Linked DNA regions of Homo sapiens: all the other regions are linked to region 1. Evidence: promoter capture Hi-C in 16 types of primary human blood cells and fetal thymus (Javierre and others, 2016). All regions are on one chromosome and are shown on one strand. Each heading gives the region's core, a stretch centred on a gene start or on the middle of the fragment in contact. The rest is flanking DNA. Distances are from core to core; before and after follow the strand shown.

The links. Contacts are between HindIII fragments. The CHiCAGO score rates a contact against its expected background, and 5 or more counts as called.
Region 2: the fragment with the promoter of NT5DC1 here is called in contact with the fragment with the promoter of GOPC in region 1 in 2 of 17 cell types (non-activated CD4 T cells and naive CD8 T cells); the score reaches 5.9 in non-activated CD4 T cells.
Region 3: the fragment with the promoter of TSPYL1 here is called in contact with the fragment with the promoter of GOPC in region 1 in 1 of 17 cell types (total CD8 T cells); the score reaches 6.5 in total CD8 T cells.
Region 4: a contact is called between a fragment that was not itself captured here and the fragment with the promoter of GOPC in region 1, in 1 of 17 cell types (neutrophils). The highest score is 8.5, in neutrophils.
Region 5: the fragment with the promoter of RWDD1 here is called in contact with the fragment with the promoter of GOPC in region 1 in 2 of 17 cell types (non-activated CD4 T cells and total CD4 T cells); the score reaches 6.6 in non-activated CD4 T cells.
Region 6: a fragment that was not itself captured here is called in contact with the fragment with the promoter of GOPC in region 1 in 1 of 17 cell types (neutrophils); the score reaches 7.1 in neutrophils.

What each region holds. Positions count from the first base shown.
Region 1 is chr6:117,600,684-117,603,954 of GRCh38, reverse strand. It overlaps GOPC (golgi associated PDZ and coiled-coil motif containing), which reads left to right and starts at 1,444. Exons shown (of 9, transcript NM_020399.4): 1 at 1,444-1,951. The coding sequence starts at 1,667. It also overlaps the pseudogene NEPNP. RefSeq lists enhancers at 1,053-1,342, 1,473-1,562. The HindIII fragment of the contact is 3,398 bases long and covers 1-1,798 here.
Region 2 is chr6:116,099,405-116,102,675 of GRCh38, reverse strand. It overlaps NT5DC1 (5'-nucleotidase domain containing 1), which reads right to left and starts at 1,823. Exons shown (of 12, transcript NM_152729.3): 1 at 1,653-1,823. The coding sequence starts at 1,745. It also overlaps a transcript of FRK not described here. RefSeq lists enhancers at 1,120-1,640, 1,641-2,163 and a silencer at 1,748-2,007. The HindIII fragment of the contact is 3,203 bases long and covers 4-3,206 here.
Region 3 is chr6:116,278,486-116,281,756 of GRCh38, reverse strand. TSPYL1 (TSPY like 1) reads left to right here and starts at 1,827. Exons shown (of 1, transcript NM_003309.4): 1 at 1,827-3,271. The coding sequence starts at 1,927. The coding sequence ends at 3,240. It also overlaps a transcript of DSE not described here. RefSeq lists enhancers at 1,834-1,893, 2,124-2,393, 2,414-2,463. The HindIII fragment of the contact is 6,415 bases long and covers 498-3,271 here.
Region 4 is chr6:118,764,393-118,767,663 of GRCh38, reverse strand. No RefSeq gene overlaps it. Among named protein-coding and RNA genes, the nearest start is that of CEP85L, 110 kb to the right of the region's middle. The HindIII fragment of the contact is 1,587 bases long and covers 1,002-2,588 here.
Region 5 is chr6:116,569,786-116,573,056 of GRCh38, reverse strand. It overlaps RWDD1 (RWD domain containing 1), which reads right to left and starts at 1,553. Exons shown (of 7, transcript NM_015952.4): 1 at 1,402-1,553. The coding sequence starts at 1,474. RefSeq lists enhancers at 1,299-1,398, 1,619-1,948, 1,979-2,158 and a silencer at 1,499-1,578. The HindIII fragment of the contact is 4,586 bases long and covers 1-3,271 here.
Region 6 is chr6:118,611,821-118,615,091 of GRCh38, reverse strand. The region is part of intron 2 of CEP85L (centrosomal protein 85L); the gene reads left to right. Among named protein-coding and RNA genes, the nearest start is that of CEP85L, 38 kb to the left of the region's middle. RefSeq lists a silencer at 2,979-3,179. The HindIII fragment of the contact is 3,565 bases long and covers 1-3,271 here.

The DNA.
Region 1 (3,271 bases), core at 195-2,694:
CAGCTAAATATGCTTCTAGGTAATGCAGGAGTTTCCACCAGCCTACTCTAATCACACAGGTTTCTCTTTCCCTTTCTAGGACTGTCTACCCTTGAACTGGAAGTAGGCAGAATGTAAAGAGAGGAGTTGCTGGATACTTTTAAAGGCACTGAAAAATTCAAGTTAAAGTTATAGTTGAGGGGTAGTAGCCTCACTAGCCTATCTTGAGTAAGGGTCATGTCTCATTCATTTTTGTGTCTTCAATGTCGCAACAGAGCTCTGCATTCAATATATTTGTAAATATATGAATTCACAATTTTGATTTTCTGAAATGTCACGTGTGAGGACACTACCAGTTTTCAAATAAATACACCTTTTAAAGTACAGTTATGTGCCAAATAACAAGGCTTCAGCAATGAATGGATCGCATAAACTATGGTGATCCTATAAGAGTATATGACTGTACCTTTTCTATGTTTAGATATGTTTAAGTACACAAATAGTTACCACTGTGTTATAATCGCCTACCGTATCCAGAATGGCAACATGCTGTACAGGTTTACAGCCTAAGAGCAATAGGCTACATCATATAGCCTGGGTGTGTAGTAGGCTATACTATCTAGGTTTGTGTTTAAATACACTCTAGGATGTTCCCTAAGGGATGATTAACCTAAGGACACATTCCTAAGAACATATCCCCATCTTAAGTGAAGCACTACTGTAGTTGCTTTTGAAATGTGTGACCTATGGTGTATTAAGAGGAATACCGTGTGCCAAGAAGTGACGCTAAGCGTTTTACCTTACAACTGAGTTAAGTAAAATTTGGAAACTTGGTTTCGAGGTTAATACATGAAAGGCGACACAGGTAGTATGTGACAGAGGGTAAGAATTGAATCCAGGTCTACCTGACTCTTAATCACAAGACAAAAAGTCTTCTATTAATTCCGCAAAATCTGGTCAGCCGCTTCAATGCGCAGCTTTAGGCAGTCCACACCTGGAATTTGGGGTCTGGTTTACCAAGAACAGCCAGTGTGTACACCCACTCCATCCTATCCAGGAACTGGAATCGAGAAGGTAAAAACGTGGCTATTGCGCATGCTCACACCGCCCTTCCTTGCTCTCCCCTCCCTGACCCTAGATGCCACCGCAGCAACTTTCTGGGAGGATTTTGGAACGGCTCCCGCCAACTGTTAAGTCAAACCGGCGGAAATCCTTCCTTTCTGCGACGTGGACACCTTTCTCATCCTCGGGCCTTTCCAACCAGGGTGCAGAAACCACGCGCCTCCGTTTCTCAGGGATTCAAGCCGTAGTTTGCCAGTTGTTAATATGGCCGCTGACAGGCCGCTCCCAAGCTGAGGCCTTTCATAGGCCAAGATCGCATCCTGTCCCCGCCTATTTTGTCCCTCGTGGCTGCGTCCGCCCAGCTCTTCGCTACGCATGCGCAGCGGGGGCAGGCTGGGAGGTGGGACTGACTGAGTCTTCCGTGTGTCGCCGCCGTTGCCGCCTCAGCTTCAGCCTCGTTACTCCTGCGGTTCTGTGACTGTGCTGCTGGCGTTAACGGCGCGAGGTGAAGGGAGGTGACGGAGTGTGCCCGCGCGCGCGGGGGTCCCCTCAGTCCCAGCAGTTCCCTTCGTGCGCGGGGGGCGGCGAGGGTCTTCAGCAGTCGGGAGAGGCCCTTGACGGCGCCATGTCGGCGGGCGGTCCATGCCCAGCAGCAGCCGGAGGGGGCCCAGGGGGCGCCTCCTGCTCCGTGGGGGCCCCTGGCGGGGTATCCATGTTCCGGTGGCTGGAGGTGCTGGAGAAGGAGTTCGACAAAGCTTTTGTGGATGTGGATCTGCTCCTGGGAGAGATCGATCCAGACCAAGCGGACATCACTTATGAGGGGCGACAGAAGATGACCAGCCTGAGCTCCTGCTTTGCACAGCTTTGCCACAAAGCCCAGTCTGTGTCTCAAATCAACCACAAGCTGGAGGTGAGCCGTGGGTGCTGGCGGCTATGGCATCCAACCCCAGGCTGCCCGGTGGCGTCAGATGCCATTTAACGCTCCAGTGAAACGACCCTAGAAAACTGCCCACCGGGGCTTCAAATGTGATGGGAGAGTGCATGTCTGAGGAGTGAGGTGAGGGTGGGGGACAAAAAGGGCCCTAGACCGACGTGTGAGTTCCCGGGGTACTGTCGTCCACCTTCCTAGTATCTCTCTGAGGAGGAAACTAATTACATACACCAGCCTCCATTGCACATGTTACATTAACAAACCTAACAAAGATTCTCTGTCATGAAAATACCGTAGGCCACCTTTTGACAACTGAGTTTTGCAGATCTGCTTTCACATTGATAAACCGAATTTGTATATGTTAAGACAGATACAGCACTGATTATTTTCATTTTAATTATTCCAGGTCAGCGCCTATGATTGCATACAGAGACATGCATAAACTATTTAGGGGAATCTGATCAAAGCTCTTAGGAAAATTTCGTGGTGCATAACGATAGTATCACTGTCTCGGTTTACATCCATAGTTGGTTGTTAAATTACAGGCAGATACCTCCAGAGAGCTCCCTGCAATTATTGAAATTACTTCTGACCTTGAGTTTTTATATGCTTGTACATTACTGTGTAATTTTCCAAAGTCTGGATTTATTTTTGAGAGAGTGTAAAGAATCATTTGCTTTAATCTCTGATCCTGGGTGTGGGTGAGGGTGGAGTGGCTGTGGTTCAAAAAAACAAAAATATCATATTGTGCAGAAAATTTAAAAAGGACATTATTAAAATATTTAGAAATCAAGATAGATTAACATTATTGCATAAAGAGTACTTTCTAACTAGGCAATTTAAGAGAATGGGTCTTTCTTTTCAAAAAGTGTAATAGATAAAAATGGGATAATCAGTGATGTGCAAAACTCTGAACATGCTTTCCTAAGAAATCATCATTACTCGTTGTCATTGACAGTGCCCATTATATCTATATCAATATGAATGTCAGTTAAACATCCTCTCCTTGCCTAGTGGTCAGCATTCTTTCTCTCCTATTAGCCATGAAATATGTGGCATAATTAATCTTTGATTAACATAGATTTACATATCCAAGAATTGTGGCTCTTCTCCACTGCGAGAACTGTTAATTTCTTCTATCCTTTTTGAAAAGATTAGAAAGTGCTAATATGAAGGTAATCACTTCTTACTGTAGGTAAATGAAAACATCTCTTGATTTCTTTATTGGTAGTAATTTCCACAAGAAAGCTATTTTTCTCAGATAGTGAAATTGCATTTAATGTTTTCTAGAAATAGTAC
Region 2 (3,271 bases), core at 574-3,073, 1.5 Mb after region 1:
GCTTTAAACATCACTTATTCTCCAGGTTTGCAGTAAAAAAACCTCTTGTCTTTGAGAATCTTATATTCTGAAATTTTATGATCACCTATGGACAACACTAGCTCTAACATGACAGTGGTTTAACAATATTACCTCCAAATGAAGGTAACTAAAGAGGAGACACACAAAACTGTGAACCAGGAAGGATTCGAAAGACACAGAGGGAAGGAAAACATGTATCAAAGACCTAGGGGAAGCAGTGGCCAAAGAATCAAGCAGTAAAAAAGCCTTCTTAATTCTCAATGTGACTAAGGAAACCAGACCTGTAAGGTAAGAAAGCAGGAAAGTGTAACAGCAGAAAAAGGACATTTAAAAAAAAATTTAGCATCTGGGCATAGAAAACACACGAGAAATTCGGGCAGCCACTCTTTTTTGACCTTTAACGTGTACCTGAACTGGTGGGTGCAGGAACTGGCGGGTGCCCATAATGGGGCACAACCCTGGCTGATGTCTGCACCAGTGATCTAGAGTTCTACCCATAAACTGTGAGGTTTCCAAATAGTTTGGGTGGTAACCATAAAAGCAAACACTTGTCTTTGCCAAGGTACTATTCTAAGCATTATACATCTCTTACTCATTTAATCCTTGCAACAATCTTGTGAGGTAAATCCAATTATTAGCTCCATTTTACAGATGGGGAAACTGAGAAGCAGCACAGGTTAAGTAACTTCCTCGAAGTCACAGAGCTAGTAACAGTGGAGCTGGTGTCCTAAGCTAGGCAGTCTGGCTGAGGAGTCCTCGCTTTCACCACTGTACTCATAACCAGCTCTTTTTCTGTCTGGATGCTTAGATCTTGGACTAAAAAAATCTGGTAACTTTTCAAAATTAGTTTCCTTGGGAATTGGGAAACCAAAGGAATAGTGGAGGGAGGGCAATTAATTTGAGTGTACAGGTCTGGAAGCATGCATACTCCATGTCCCCCTCCCTCAGGGCACAGTGAGGACCCAAACTTCGCAGACTGTTGGTAGGACTGGAATGTATTCAAAGTGCACGGAGCACGTAGTCGATGCGCAATAAATATGTATTTTCTTCTCTTGATAGAAGGTAAAACTAGGGCTAAGATCTTAATGACTTTTCAACTAGTGTTCCTTTCAATACACTACACTATATACTACGCATCTCTCCCAGATTGCAGTTTAAACACTGATGGGTGGTTGATCGTGCAAACAGAAAAATGCAGCCAAAAAAAATGCAAGTACCAAATCAAGTGGCTGTGTCCACAATCAGCTGGTGTCCAGAAAGACATGCAGAGAAAGTTCCACGACGTGAGATCTTCAAGGACAGCCCTAGTCCCCCTGACCCCGCCCCTCCTCGGCCCTAGAAATCACCGATTCCCCAGCCCGGTCTTGCGCAGTTTGCCCCTCCTTCGTTCTTCCCTATCCCTCTCAACATTAGCTAATGGCTGAGGTAAATGTGCCGGTCCCCACGGCACCGGCGCGGAGCGGAGGCTGCACACTTCCGCCCCTTCTCGCCGCTGGAGGCCGCGCTCTGCGGCAAGACTCGGCCGCCGCAGGCCCCGGGCAGCGTCCGCCGTTGCCCAAACCTGGAGGAAACTCAAGCCCCAGCCGCCATGGAGGTTGCGCGCAGTGCGCCCCGGAGCCCGCGCCACTCACCGGGGCGCTCTCGGGCAGGTTGTAGCGACACAGAGTGTGGTCCAGGTCGAATCCGACCACGTCGCAGGCGGCCAGGGAGAAGTGCTGAGCCATGGCTGCGCGGGGAGCACCAGGGAGCGCCTCGGCCGCGAAGGGTGCAAGGAGCTGGCTGGCGGGACGCTGCGGGACAGGACCGGGCCGGACGCGGCGGGGCGGGGCTGCGGCTGCCAGGGCACACGGCGCGGCAGCCTCTCCCGCCTCCCGCGCCCTCGAGCACCGCCCCTCGATACGCTTAGCCCCCGCCCCTCGCGCGGCGGGCGTCCTGCGCCGCCCGGAGTCAGGTAGTCAGCTCGCGTCCTCCTGGTACCCCAATGCCGGCGACTCCTGATCTGTTCCGCAAGCCTAGGAGCCCAGAAGGCAGTAGGGGTCCAGGAGCGGTGCCGCTGCTGCACAGCTGAGACCTGTAGGCACGTAGCCTTTCCCGAGGGCTACCACAAAATTAACCGGGACACTCCATCGCCTCAGGGCGCCTCGGAAACCAGGAGATCATGAGGTTAGACCTGACCTTTTACCCCTGTGTGAGGAATAGTAAGATCATAGAAAAAATTCATCCGCTAATATCCCTCTGACCCAGTTAGCCTACAATTTGGAAGGTCTTTTCACCCACGTGATCTTTGATAGTGGTTTAAACCAAAAACTTTATATTCCTTGGTTTCCTAAGTGGTTAAGTGGAAGACAGACCTTTCACTATTTCATACCCTGGAGTGCGTTAGAAAATAAATGTATCAGACATCGTGAAGAACCATTTTGCAAGATGATACTTGTTATGGAAACCAATATTGGTTATTACTTGATAATCCTATTTTGTTATTGTAATGAATTTTTTATGAAAGGGCATCAGAAACTTCATAGAAATATATAGAGCATACTACAAAAAACTTTTGCAAACCGGGTTTAAGGTTTATAGAGCACAAAATGTTTTGAGTGACATTTGCTTAATTCTCTCAAGAACTGTATAACTACTACCATTTTAGATGCAGAGAAAGTTAATCCATTACATACAATGTATGCCTTAGGGCATTTAATTCTCTTCCTGATTTCCGGATGTGAAGGACTAGCACTTTGAGATCTTTATTACATAGTACCTCATTTTAAAAAGAAAATACAAATCTATTATGTTTACACTGCTTCAGTTCTCAATTTAAAGGAACAATGTGTCTAATGGGACAAATCAATAGTCGTGACATAATGAAAATATAATTGATTGAGAACTGCATTTAACCCTTTCAAATACTAATCCTTCTGAGGCTAATAGACCAATCAGAGGATTAATTTAGTGCAATAGATAGTACAATTGAGTAGGAGGACACTTATACCTAGTAGACCCATTTGAATAAAATTGATAACTTGTTCCATTATAACACTTAAAAGCCCCAAACAAATCTCTCTGGAATAGGAAAAGTAAAGAATCTTCAAGAAGATTAAGCTGTTCACTGATGAGTCCAACAATCATGTTTTCAATGTCTGTGAACCAAAAGAGAAAAGGCTGGATTGTTGGAGAGGCTGGAAAAAGCTTGTTGGCCCTGGAGCATTGACCTTGGCATTCTCCTCTGCACCTTGCAATAGAATGCTACCAAAGT
Region 3 (3,271 bases), core at 578-3,077, 1.3 Mb after region 1:
CTCCTTTATTTAACATTTTAATAATCTATGGGATACTGTGTAAGGTAGTGTGCTAGGCACTCGATAAACAGAGGGAAACGAAACCATGATCATGTCCTCTTGCAGTTTACAGTCTCCTCAGATATCGTTTGTGGTATGTTTAGGCTTTAATTTTGTCTTTCTGTGCATTTGCCTAAGTATATTTCTGGTCTTGATATTGAAAGACAGATTCAAGCTGTAATACATCACAGCTGTTGGGCAGGAACTCACGGGAAGCCATGAGCAAGGTAGAAGGGGCTGCTATTAGAAACAACTTGAGGCACCCATAGATGCAACCAAACCTTAATCCAAGGTGTATTCATTTCATATTGCTTCTGTAACAAATTACCACAAATTTAATAGCTTAAAATGCACAAATTTATTTTCTTATAGTGCTGGAGTTTAGAGGTAATAACCTCAAGGTGTTGTCATTCCTTTGGAGGCTCTAGGATTGAATCTATTTCCTTACCTTTCAAGCTTCTAGAGGCTGCCTTTATTCCTACGATCCTGGCTCCTTCCTCCATCTTCAAAGCCAGCAACATAGCGATTTCCCTTTCCTCCCTCCCACACCTATTCTCCACCATTCCTTCCCTCTCTCTGTGCTTTCGTCCTCTTATCTTCTCTGACTGACCCTCCTGCCTCCTTCTTATAAGAAATTTGTAATTCCATAGGGCCCACCTGTATAATCCAGAATCATCTTCTCATCTCCAAATCTTTAACTTAATCATATCTGCGAAGTCCCTTTGGCCGCATAACTAAGACAGGTACATCTTTGAGGGCCATCAGGCTACTACCACACAAAGCAAATTAAGTAGAAAATAACGTTTGCCTCTTTTATACCTTGAGTCCACCAGCTGCATGTTGCCCTTTGCAAGTTTGTTTTCTACTTCAAGGCCATCTTAGTTGTCCATTTTAACTAGCCTTTCCTCACAAAATGGTGGTATGTGGCTCCCCCCACTGATATTTCTCTGAGGCCTTGTAGCTCTCTAAGACAGCACCAGTTTAACTCACAAGTCAACAAACTGGAACACTTCAACCAGAGACATTGACATCCCCCTCTAATGAACTCAGCTGATTGCTAAAGACAGATGCTTCGTTAGAGCCAAACATTCCTATCTTACATAACTAAATATGATAATAAATTAAGTTCTTGGGGCTGGAAATAGTTATAATTTCCTCTTTCTTGCAGTGAAAAGGCATGGAACATTTAGCAAACTGATCCTGGCTTAATTTCTACCGATACTATGCAGCACAAACTCTTATTTGATGCAGATTATAAATCGAAAATTAGCAATGAATACTATGCATCGCTTTAGTGGTAAGAGGCTGCTGAGTAGCTTTTTTTCCCCAGTAACCGTAGAGGCAAGAATTGATATTTTTATGTCACTTTTACTAAGAAGGGGGGAAACATTTTGCTATTAATCTTAAAGAGAAGTCTTTTGCTGCTAGTTACGTGGAGTAACAGGGAATAGATTTACCTTCCTGCCTCAAAAAAGTGAAGACCAGAAAAACATTTGTTTTCAGACACTGGAGAGCAGGCACTGTTACGGCTGTGATTTTACAACTGCTCCTACATGCTGGGAGCAGTCGCTAGATGCATCTCAAGGTGGGTCGTCCGCGCTTCCAGACTCAGCACAATCGACATTTATTTACGTAGGTAAAATTACTGTTGCTATGGGTAAATTCACAGAAATAAAGCCCAGAGAATCCGGTTGGCTGGCAGGGAGCGGCGGAACCAATCCCGGGCTCAGCAAGTTCTCGCGATACCGTGAGATCTCCAGTCCTGACGACACCGCCGCTGAAATGTTAGTGAGACTGTAGGGTGGGCGGTGCGAGCGGCGGTTAGCTCCCAGTTCGGCCTCTGAGGAAAACGGGCGTTCGCCTGCGGTTGGTCCGACTGTTAGCAACATGAGCGGCCTGGATGGGGTCAAGAGGACCACTCCCCTCCAAACCCACAGCATCATTATTTCTGACCAAGTCCCGAGCGACCAGGACGCACACCAGTACCTGAGGCTCCGCGACCAAAGCGAGGCGACACAGGTGATGGCGGAGCCGGGTGAGGGAGGCTCGGAGACCGTCGCGCTCCCGCCTCCACCGCCTTCAGAGGAGGGGGGCGTACCCCAGGATGCCGCGGGCCGTGGCGGTACTCCCCAGATCCGAGTTGTTGGGGGTCGCGGTCATGTGGCGATCAAAGCCGGGCAGGAAGAGGGCCAGCCTCCCGCCGAAGGCCTGGCAGCCGCTTCTGTGGTGATGGCAGCCGACCGCAGCCTGAAAAAGGGCGTTCAGGGTGGAGAGAAGGCCCTAGAAATCTGTGGCGCCCAGAGATCCGCGTCTGAGCTGACGGCGGGGGCGGAGGCTGAGGCGGAGGAGGTGAAGACAGGAAAGTGCGCCACCGTCTCAGCAGCCGTGGCTGAGAGGGAGAGCGCTGAGGTGGTGAAGGAAGGCCTGGCGGAGAAGGAGGTAATGGAGGAGCAGATGGAGGTAGAGGAGCAGCCGCCAGAAGGTGAAGAAATAGAAGTGGCGGAGGAGGATAGATTGGAGGAGGAGGCGAGGGAGGAAGAAGGGCCCTGGCCTTTGCATGAGGCTCTCCGCATGGACCCTCTGGAGGCCATCCAGCTGGAACTGGACACTGTGAATGCTCAGGCCGACAGGGCCTTCCAACAGCTGGAGCACAAGTTTGGGCGGATGCGTCGACACTACCTGGAGCGGAGGAACTACATCATTCAGAATATCCCGGGCTTCTGGATGACTGCTTTTCGAAACCACCCCCAGTTGTCCGCCATGATTAGGGGCCAAGATGCAGAGATGTTAAGGTACATAACCAATTTAGAGGTGAAGGAACTCAGACACCCTAGAACCGGTTGCAAGTTCAAGTTCTTCTTTAGAAGAAACCCCTACTTCAGAAACAAGCTGATTGTCAAGGAATATGAGGTAAGATCCTCCGGCCGAGTGGTGTCTCTTTCTACTCCAATTATATGGCGCAGGGGGCATGAACCCCAGTCCTTCATTCGCAGAAACCAAGACCTCATCTGCAGCTTCTTCACTTGGTTTTCAGACCACAGCCTTCCAGAGTCCGACAAAATTGCTGAGATTATTAAAGAGGATCTGTGGCCAAATCCACTGCAATACTACCTGTTGCGTGAAGGAGTCCGTAGAGCCCGACGTCGCCCGCTAAGGGAGCCTGTAGAGATCCCCAGGCCCTTTGGGTTCCAGTCTGGTTAACATTTGCCCTTGGGAATACTCCTGCACAAGG
Region 4 (3,271 bases), core at 546-3,045, 1.2 Mb before region 1:
GGACCATTCTTATGGATATTCCACTGTCACTTTATCAGGCCCACTGTGGACAATCAGCTCTCACAGCAGATGCTTATGGCGAGGGTGCCACAGTCGAACTGAAATATGGCATAACCTTCCGGTTCCTACCATCTTGATACAAGGGATGGTGTTTTTCAGGTCCAAGCTTTGAAGGTGTGTGGTCCTTTTAACTAGGAATACAATCAGTACACTAGAATCAGCCTTTCTAAGGGATGTTACCTGTCAAATAATTGCTAGATAGTTGGAGTTAAACACCATGGAAGAGGCTGAGCGGAGCTGCTAGTTCTGGGACCTCCGGGCCTGGGCAAGGTTATCTTCCCAGCAGCTCCAACCACTGGCAGGGGATGAGTACTTTATTTCTTTGATCCTCTGCTTCTTGAACTCTCAACTGAGAGCGTCTGCAGATTGGCCAGTTCTCATTTATCTAAAAATCTGCTGGCCCCCTTCTTGTTGGCCTAACATAGAGCTTTGGAATTGCTTGGTTGCCTTACTGAATGTGTTCACCTAGGATAGGATATTCCCAAGTGGGATCATACAGTGGTTGCCTAGTATTTCACCAAAATTCTCCTATTTAAAACATTTTACAATCTTTTGTAAAATGGGTTTTACACATTGAGGCACACATGAGGCACATCAGGAGGGCAAGTACTTTCTAAAGCATTTCATTCAACTACCTTGGTTCATGCCTGCTCCTAGTCCCATCCCCGTCATCGAGACAGGACACAGTCCTCCAGTCAGCTCAGTCTTTCATCACTGATTCTTGGCACAGAGAGGGTCTTATCGCTGGTTCCTTCAGATGCCACAAACGTCCTCTCTAGCCTCCTTTCCCCCTAACACTATCATTCTAGTCTAGCGCCTCACCCCATACCTGGGCTCTTTAGTAAGTTCCAATAATATGTGCGGAGTGCCTACCATGTACTATGTTGAACACAGAGGGAGGATGCAAACTGAGTCAGTTAGGACCCCAGAGCAGGGAAGCTTATCTAGACTTACAAATAACCAAGTAGATAAGGTGTGGGAGGCAGAACAATGGCCCCTAAAGGATGTCCACATCTTAGTTCCCAGAACCTGTGACTATGTTTCTTTGCATAGCAAAAGCAACTTTGCAGATGCAATTAAATCAAGGAATTTGAGATGATGAGATTTTTCCTGAATTATCTGCATGGGCCTAATATATTCACAAGGGTCTTTACAGAGGAAAGGCAGAAGGGCCCAAGTCAGAGAAGGAGATGTGATGACAGAGACAGAGGTCGACGTGATAAGGGGACATAAACCAAGGGATAGAGGCGGCCTCTAGAAACTAGAAAAGACAGAGAAACAGATTGTCCCTGAAGTCTTCACAAGGAACCAGACTGTTGCCCCATTGTGGACTTCTGACCTCCAGAACTATAACATAAATAGTGTTGATTTAAGCTACTGAATTTGTGGTAATTTGGTTGTTTTTTTGTTTTAAAATTTCAGCTTTAATTTTAGATATGGGGGGTACCAGTGTAGGACTGTTACATGGGGATATTGGACCCAGGTAATGAGCATAGCACCCAACAGTAGTTTTTCAATCCACGCCCCTCTCCCTCCCTCGTGCCTCTAATAGTCCACAGTGTCTATTGTTCCCATGTTTATGTCCATGTGTGCTCAATGTTTCACTCCCAGTTACAAGTGAGGACATGTAGTATTTGGTTTTCTGTTCCTATGTTAATTTGCTTAGGATAATGGCCTCCAGCTCCATCCACGTTCCTGCAAAGGACATCATTTCATTCTTTTTTCCATCTGCATAGTATTTCATGGTGTATATGTACCGCATTTTCTTTATCCAATCCACTATTGATGGGCACCTAGTTGATTCCATGCCTTTTTTATTGTGAATAGAACAGCAATGAATATACGAGTTCATGTGTCTTTTTGGTACAATGATCTATATTCCTTTGGGTATACACAGTAATGGGATTGCTAGGTCAAATGGTATCTCTGTTTTAAGTTCTTTAAGAAATCTCCAAGCTGCTTTCTGTAGTGGCTGAACTAATTTACATTCCCACCAACAGTGAATAAGCCTTCTCTTTTCTCCGCAGCCTTGCTAGTATATGTTCTTTTTTTTGACTTATTAATAAAAGCCATTCTGACTGGTGTGAGATGGTATCTCATTGTGTCATTGTGGTTTTGATTTGCATTTTTTGATGATGAGTGACAATGAGCATTTTTTCATATGTTTGTTGGCTGCTTGTATGTCTTCTTTTGAGAAGTGTCTGTTTATGCCCTTTGCCGAATTTTATGGGAGATTTGTTTTTTACTTGTTGATTTGTTTAAGTTCCTTATAGATTCTGGACTAATACATAGAATAAAAGACAGAGAAAGGAAAACTTACAATGGCAGAGGCCAACCAATACCATTTGGATGAAAAAAGATATGGGAGCACAGGAGAAGGTATGATCCATTCTGCCTGGGATATGGGAAACTTCCAGTGTAAATAGTTCTCCCAGACATCTCTCTACTCCAACCTGGTTACTAACCTGCCTACTGGAGTCTCTACAAGGATATAAAAAAGACTATTCAACCTCAATACTTTTGAAGCTTGTGAATTTTACCCCCAAATCTGTTCTTCCTTTAGTGTTTCTTCAGTGAGTGACACCACCACAGATCCCTCTGCATGGCCAGAAACAGGAACTCTCCATGCACGGGAAGCTGTGTTCTATGAACCAGCATTTGTCAAAATACTGGGCACCTGACTGCAGCGCAAAACAAATTCATTGTCATTGCTCAACAGATTTCTTTCTCTTGAGTGTAATCATTTATTTTAAACTGGAATTCATTCTAAAAGGGGCTAGACATTATTTCCAGATTCCAAGTGTAATTTAAAAAATTCGAAAGATAGGAGTGTCTGAGTAAACTGCAAGAGAAAGAGGCCTATTTTAGATGTGAAACCCTAAAATAATGGGATCACATTTTAGGAGGTATAAAAGCCATTTAAAACCATAATAGAACACCCTTGATTTTTGCTATTCAGAGCAAAAGATCCAAAATCAAAGATAAAAATCCATGCTAATTCAGAACACATTACATTTTTACCCCTTATTACTACTAGATAGTATACTATACTATATACTACAGCATTATACCACAGTGGTATGCTATATTATACTACAATATTCAGCCTCCAAATACAATGCAGACCATATATTTAATCAAGGCTTTATAGGTTTTGAAGAATGTTTAGCTTCCCCTTTGGAAGCATCTAGCTGTGACTCAATAAAGCCTC
Region 5 (3,271 bases), core at 304-2,803, 1.0 Mb after region 1:
CCTATATTCTATTTTAGACATACACATATAAGCAAGGATAGAGAAGGGAGCCAGACTCCATACACACTCACCCAGTTAATGACACTCTCAAACCCCTCTTCACTCATCCCCTTAACATCCTCACAGCACAGATGTACTGCTGGTGAGAGAGAACATGAACAGGACTGGAGCTATACAGGGATAGCTGAGAGACATCTGCCTGTTGGCAAAGCAGAACAAAATTTGCTACCATTGCAAGCAGTGGTCAAAAGGTGAAGCCAAGAAAACTAAGCTAAACAATGAAAGGGAGAGGGGTTGGAATTTATAAGTTAAAGTAATATACCTTACACTATAAATTCTGACTATCAACGATAGGCAACACTCAAAGGAAAGGATGGGGAATGTAAATGCACACACCTAGGTTCTACTCACTCATATTGGCTTTATTTGACCGCTTCTCAAATCTCAGAGGAGCCATATTGATATAGTTATGTAGCATTTTTATAATCATCCGAAGCATGGCTTAATAGAGAAATCTCGTCCTCTAAATTATACCTAATGAACTTCTCATTATAATATTTTACATTAGCCCAACCTACCAAGTAATCTTCTGCTCTCTCAATCTCAGCTGGAGCTGAATCCCAAGTCCCATATGTCTGGAAAGTGAAAGAACAGGCAAGCGTTCTGGACGTATAACTCAGTACCAGCCCTGCCGCTAACTCGCTGGCGGACAGTACAGAGCAAGCCACTTAGCTTTCCTGAACCCCCATGACCTTGGCTTGGAGCAGGAGCCCCAGGATAGATGATGTTTAATCTCCCTTCCAATCTAACAACCTATGAATTTATAGCAGAACGGAAATTTGGGCCACATTATCCATTAGGCATTCTGCTGAATGCCAGATTTTTTTTTTTTTCATAAGAAAAGAAACCCGACAGACTTCAGGGACTATGCTACTCTCAAAACCGATTTGAGTAACTGAAAACAGCACTCTGAATCCTATAAACTAAAACAGCATCGTATGAAAAACAGTTTCTACCTTAATAAAGCTAAAAATGTGAAAACTAACATTCTTGCGGCTGTGGAAAAACGAATCGCACTTGGAGTATTTTTTCTCTTAATGTATTATAAATCTCAGGTTGCTGTAGGTTACACAGAAACCAAAGTAATCCCGACTCAATTTTCAGGCCTGACACCCTCCAACATCACCCGGACTTTTAGATTTCCGGGAACAAGCAGAGAAGGAGAAAAAGTCACTGGGTTGCTGGTAAGTGACTGAAGAACTTGAGGAGTGGAGGGCAAGGTGGCCGCGCGGCCTCAAGGTCCCCTTCTCCACCCCAACCTATGAGGCCCAGAGCTGCGGCAGCTCCTGCCCGTCCTACTCCACCTCGGGGCGGCTACAGGCTTGCGGCCGCGGGAGTCACCTGTGAAGGAGTCAGGGTAGATGGACTCCAGGGCCTCCAGCTCGTTGCGCTGCTCCTCGCCGTAATCTGTCATCGTGGCCCTTGCTCTTGCCCATAGATCGCCCAGACACCTAGGCGGCGCGCAGCAGCCCAGACAGCTGCCGCGCCGGGAGAGCGGGCGGCGGCCAGGCGGGCGCAGGCGCAGAGTCCCCGGCTGGAAGGCCCAGGGCCCAAAGCCAGACCCGGCTTGCTTAACTGCAGCTCCGCGCCGGCCTCCGCCTGCTCCCTACTTCCACGTTCGACTCGTTCTGCCTGGCCAGGGGGCACTGATTTGCTGCCTGTCCCACACTCGCTCGGGACTTGCTGGGACGGTGCGCGCGGTCTGGCATTCGCCAAGGACACCTACAGCCGGCTCCTGGGCTTTGCAGGGCCTGAGCCTTAGAAGCCTCTCAGCGCTGCATCCTCGCTCGATGAGTCTGGGCTGAAAGGCCGGCATCGCGCGTCAGTGAAGGATAGTGTCGCTGGTGGCCGGGCTGGGGCGAGGGGCGTCCGATGCCTTCACCTTTTCTGGTTTCCGGTTTGACGCCGTGGCGTAGGTGCTGCGGGCTTGCAACCTAGTGTGGACTGGTGGGGCTCAGGAGATTTCTGAGCTTCTCGAACTCCGTATTGCTTGGCGTCCTACGGGAGTTGGACGAGAGGCTGGGACCAGTGTAGATTCCACTGGGCAGGGGAGCAAAAGCTCTGCACTGCCTTGAATGAGTATGGAAGGGTCGGTCTAACTGCTTAATAAGTCGGGGTGGATCCAGGAGGGAGAAATAGACCGGAGGTCCGGCTTCTCGGTTCAGATCTTTAGGCTTAACTTCTGATTTTGTGAAATGAACGCAGCTGGACGTATGATAGATCTCAAGATGTCTGTGATTGTGTATTTGTGAATTGATGAAAGGAATGTAGATCTCAGTAATAACAATTATCATATGCAATGTAAAAATTGCAGTACCCCGAGAAATGTTGAGAACCTTTAATTTGGTAATACGACTTCCAAGAATAAACTTGAGCAAGTAGCATGCATCTGTGATCTCCAAAATCATTGCAGCAATTACAAAGAAAATTTTCAAAGAACCATGATGGCAAAAGCTAAGAAAATGGCTAAATAAACATGGTTAGCTTTATGAAAATGATATTAAAAACTATGGTAACAATAATAAAGGATCCCATGTTCCTTTATTATATTATTGCGCTAAGTCGAAAAATGGAAAATTTTAAGAAAATACTCAAAAGCTGTTGCCCACTTTTCTGTATTTTTCTTTGTTTTGATTTCTCTGTATTAAAGCTGGTTTCACTGGTATAGTGGGAGGAACACTTTTTAAATGAAAGATTCCTAATGATGAAGCCCCTGAAGCACCAGAAGGCACCTTGATCTTTTATTGAGGAGTGCTGCTTACCTATAGCAGAGGAACACTTTGATACTGATTCCGTGTTTACGGTATTAAGGGTTGATTTCAGGCGTTCTTTTAAACTTTAATGAAAAAGTGGAGTCTCCTAACTATGATGACAATCAAATAAAATACATAAAGTAACTTTGCAAGTATAAGTTGCTCATTTTTTTTGGATCGCCTCAGTTCAGAGGAATTATACTGATTTATTATGAGGAAAGAGCTGCCAGAGGAAACAGCTAGTGCATTAAGTCCTAAGTGGGGAGTCAAGGATGATTTTTGGCTGGAAGAACTGGAAAGACGAAGTTCTGTTGACCAAAATAAGTGAGGAAGACAGAATCAAATTTGGCAAGGAAGGTGGCATTACATCTTTAAATGACTCCTAGATGAAAGAAAATCAAGCAAAATTAAGTTTTTTTCTCCTAACAGAATAATAAAAACAACCTACCAAAAGAAAT
Region 6 (3,271 bases), core at 337-2,836, 1.0 Mb before region 1:
TGCTCATCAGCGTTGTATAGTTTTTAATATTTTCTATGCATATGTTGTTAGATTTACACTTAATATTTTATGTTTTTGGAGTGATTGTAAATTATATTGTATTTTCAAGTTTTAAGACATAGAACACAGAAATAAGTTTAGAAATACATTTATAATATAGAAATACATTTGCTTTTAAAAAAATCTATCTATCTATCTATCTATCTATCTATCTATCTATCTATCTGTCTGTCTGTCTGTCTATGAATGAATGATGGAGTTTTGTTCTTGTTGCCCAGGCTGGAGTGCAATGGCACGATCTTGGCTCACTGCAACCTCCACCTCCGGGGTCCAAGCAATTCTCCTGCCTCAGCCTCCCGAGTAGCTGGGATTACAGGCATGTGCCACCACCAGCTAATTTTTTTATTTTCAATAGAGACGGGGTTTCTCCATGTTGGTCAGGCTGTCCTTGAACTCCTGACCTCAGGTGATCCACCTGCCTCAGCCTCCCAAAGTGCTGGGATTACAGGTGTGAGCCACTGCGCCCGGCCACATTTGCTTTTTGTATATTTATCTTGTATTTGTTACCTTGCTGAACTCACGCATTAGTTCTAAGAGTTTGTTTTGGTAGATACCTTGGAATTTTGAATGTAGACAATCACATTGTCTATAAATAAGGAGTTTTTTCTTTCTGATTTGTGTGCCTTTTGTTTTCTTCTCTTGACTTACTGCAGTGACTAGAAGAATCTAGCACAATGTTTATGAGTAGTAGAAGTGGATATCCTTGCCTTGTTTCTGATTACACAGATATAGCATTCAGTCTTTTCACTATTAAGTAGCAGTAGTATAGCTGTTAGCTGTAGGTTTTTGTAGATACCATTTATCAATTTGAGGGCACTTCTTATTCCTAGTTTGCAGAGGGTTTTTATCATGAATAGGTATTAGATGTTGTCAATTTTTTTTCCTCAATGAATTGATTTATGATTTTCTTCTTTAGTTTGTTGATATGGTGGTGCATTTTATTACTTGATTTAAAAAATGTTTAACGAACTTTTTATCCCTGGAATAAGCGCCACTTGGTCATGGTATATAATTCTTTTTATATATTGCTGAATTTTGTTTATAGTTTGTTAAGGATTGTTTTCGTGTATCGATAAGGAATATTGTCCTGTAGTTTTTTTCTCAGGTACTCTCTGGATATCAGGGTTAATACTATAATACCTTTATAAATGAATGGGGAAATGTTCTCTCTTATTTTTTGGAAGAGATTGTATAGAATGGTGCTGATTCTTTTTTATACATTTGGTAGAATTTTCAGTGAAACACTCTGGGCCCAGAATTTTTTTTTTTTTTTTGAGACACAGATTTGCTCTTGTTGCCCAGGCTGGAGTGCAGTGGTGCGATCTCGGGTCACCACAACCTCCAACTCCTGGGTTCAAGCGATTCTCCTTCCTCAGCCTCCCGAGTAGCTGGGATTATAGGTGTGTGCCACCACGCCGGGCTAATCTTTGTAGTTTTAGTAGAGAGAGGATTTTGCCATGTTGACCAGGCTGGTCTTGAACTCCTGACCTCAGGTGATCCACCCGCCTTGGCCCCACAAAGTACTAGGATTACAGGCGTGAGCCACTGCACCTGGCCAGTGGGCCCAGAGATTTTTAATTTTTGAAATTTTAAAATTATGAATTCGATTTCCTTAATAGTTATAAAGTAATTCAAATTATCTGTTTCAAATTGGATGCGTTGCATTTGTTTTTTAGAGGAAGTGGTTGATTTCACCTAAATTATCAAGTTTATGTGTGTAGAATTGTTTATAACATTCTCTTATTATTTGTTAGATGTCTGCAGGCTATGTGGTGATGTCTCCTGTTTCATTTCAGTTATTGTTTTTCTTTCTTTTTTTCGAGACGGAGTTTTGCTCTTGTTGCCCAGGCTGGAGTACAGTGGCGCGATCTCGGCTCACTGCAACCTCTGCCCGCCGGGTTAAGCGATTCTCTTGCCTCAGCCTCCTGAGTAGCTGGGATTACAGGCCCACCACTCCTGGCTAATTTTTGTATTTTTAGTAGAGGGGATTTCTCCATGTTGGTCAGGCTGGTCTCAAACTCCTGACTTCAGGCGATCCGCCCGCCTCGACCTCCCAAAGTGCTGGGATTACAGGTGTGAGCCACCACACCTGGCCTCATTTCAGTTATTGTTAATTTGTGTCTTCCTGCCTTGTTTTTCAGTTTTGGTAGCAGTTTGTTGATTTTACTGATCTCTACAAAGAACCATCTCCTGATCACATTAATTTTCTCATTTGTTTTCTGTTTTCAATTTCAGCAATTTCTGCTCTTTGTTGCTTCCTTTTTTTCTGCTTTGGGTCTGTTGAACTCTTCTTTTTTTCTAGGTTCTTGTTAGCAGATTAGATTACTGATTTGAGAGTCCCCCCCCCCCCCCCCCGCTTTTTTTTTTTTTTGAGACAGAGTCTCACTCTGTCGCCCAGGCTAGAGTGCAGTGGTGCAGTCTCGGCTCACTGCCAGCTCCGCCTCCTGGTTCACACCATTCTCCTGCCTCAGCCTCCCCAGTAGCTGGGACTACAGGCACCCGTCACCATGCCTGGCTAATTTTTTTTTTTTTTGTATTTTTAGTAGAGACAGGGTTTCACTATGTTAGCCAGGATCTGGATCTCCTGACCTCATGATCCACCCGCCTCGGCCTCACAAAGTGCCGGGATTATAGGTGTGAGCCACCGCACCTGGCCGTTTGCCACTTTTAAAATATGCTATTATAAATTTTCCTCTCAGAACTGCTTTAGCTGTGTCCCACAAATTTTGATATTTTATATTTTCATTTTAGTTCAGTGTGGTTTTTTTTTTTATTTGCCTTATGACTTCCTCTTTGCTTCTCAGGACTGTAAGTGTGTTGTTTAGTTTCAAAGTGTTTGGAGATTTTCCTGCTGTCTTTCTGTTATTAATTTCTAGTTTTTTCCATTGTAGCCAGAAACTCTTCATGTGATTTCAGTCCTTTAAATTTGTTGACATTTGTTTTAGGGCCCACCGTATGGTATATTTGATGTATGTTCTGTGGGTACTTGGAAAGAATGTGTATTCTGCTGTTGTAGTGGGGGAGTGTCCTATAAATGTTGATTAGATCTTGTTTATGTTGAGTTCTGTATACTTGATGATTTTCTGTCTAGTTTTTCTATCAGTTGTTGAAAGAGGAGTGTTTGAAAGTCTACAAATATAATTATAGATTTGTGTATTTTTTTATTTCTGTGTTTTTGCTTTATATATTGCAGCCACATTGTTTGGTGTGT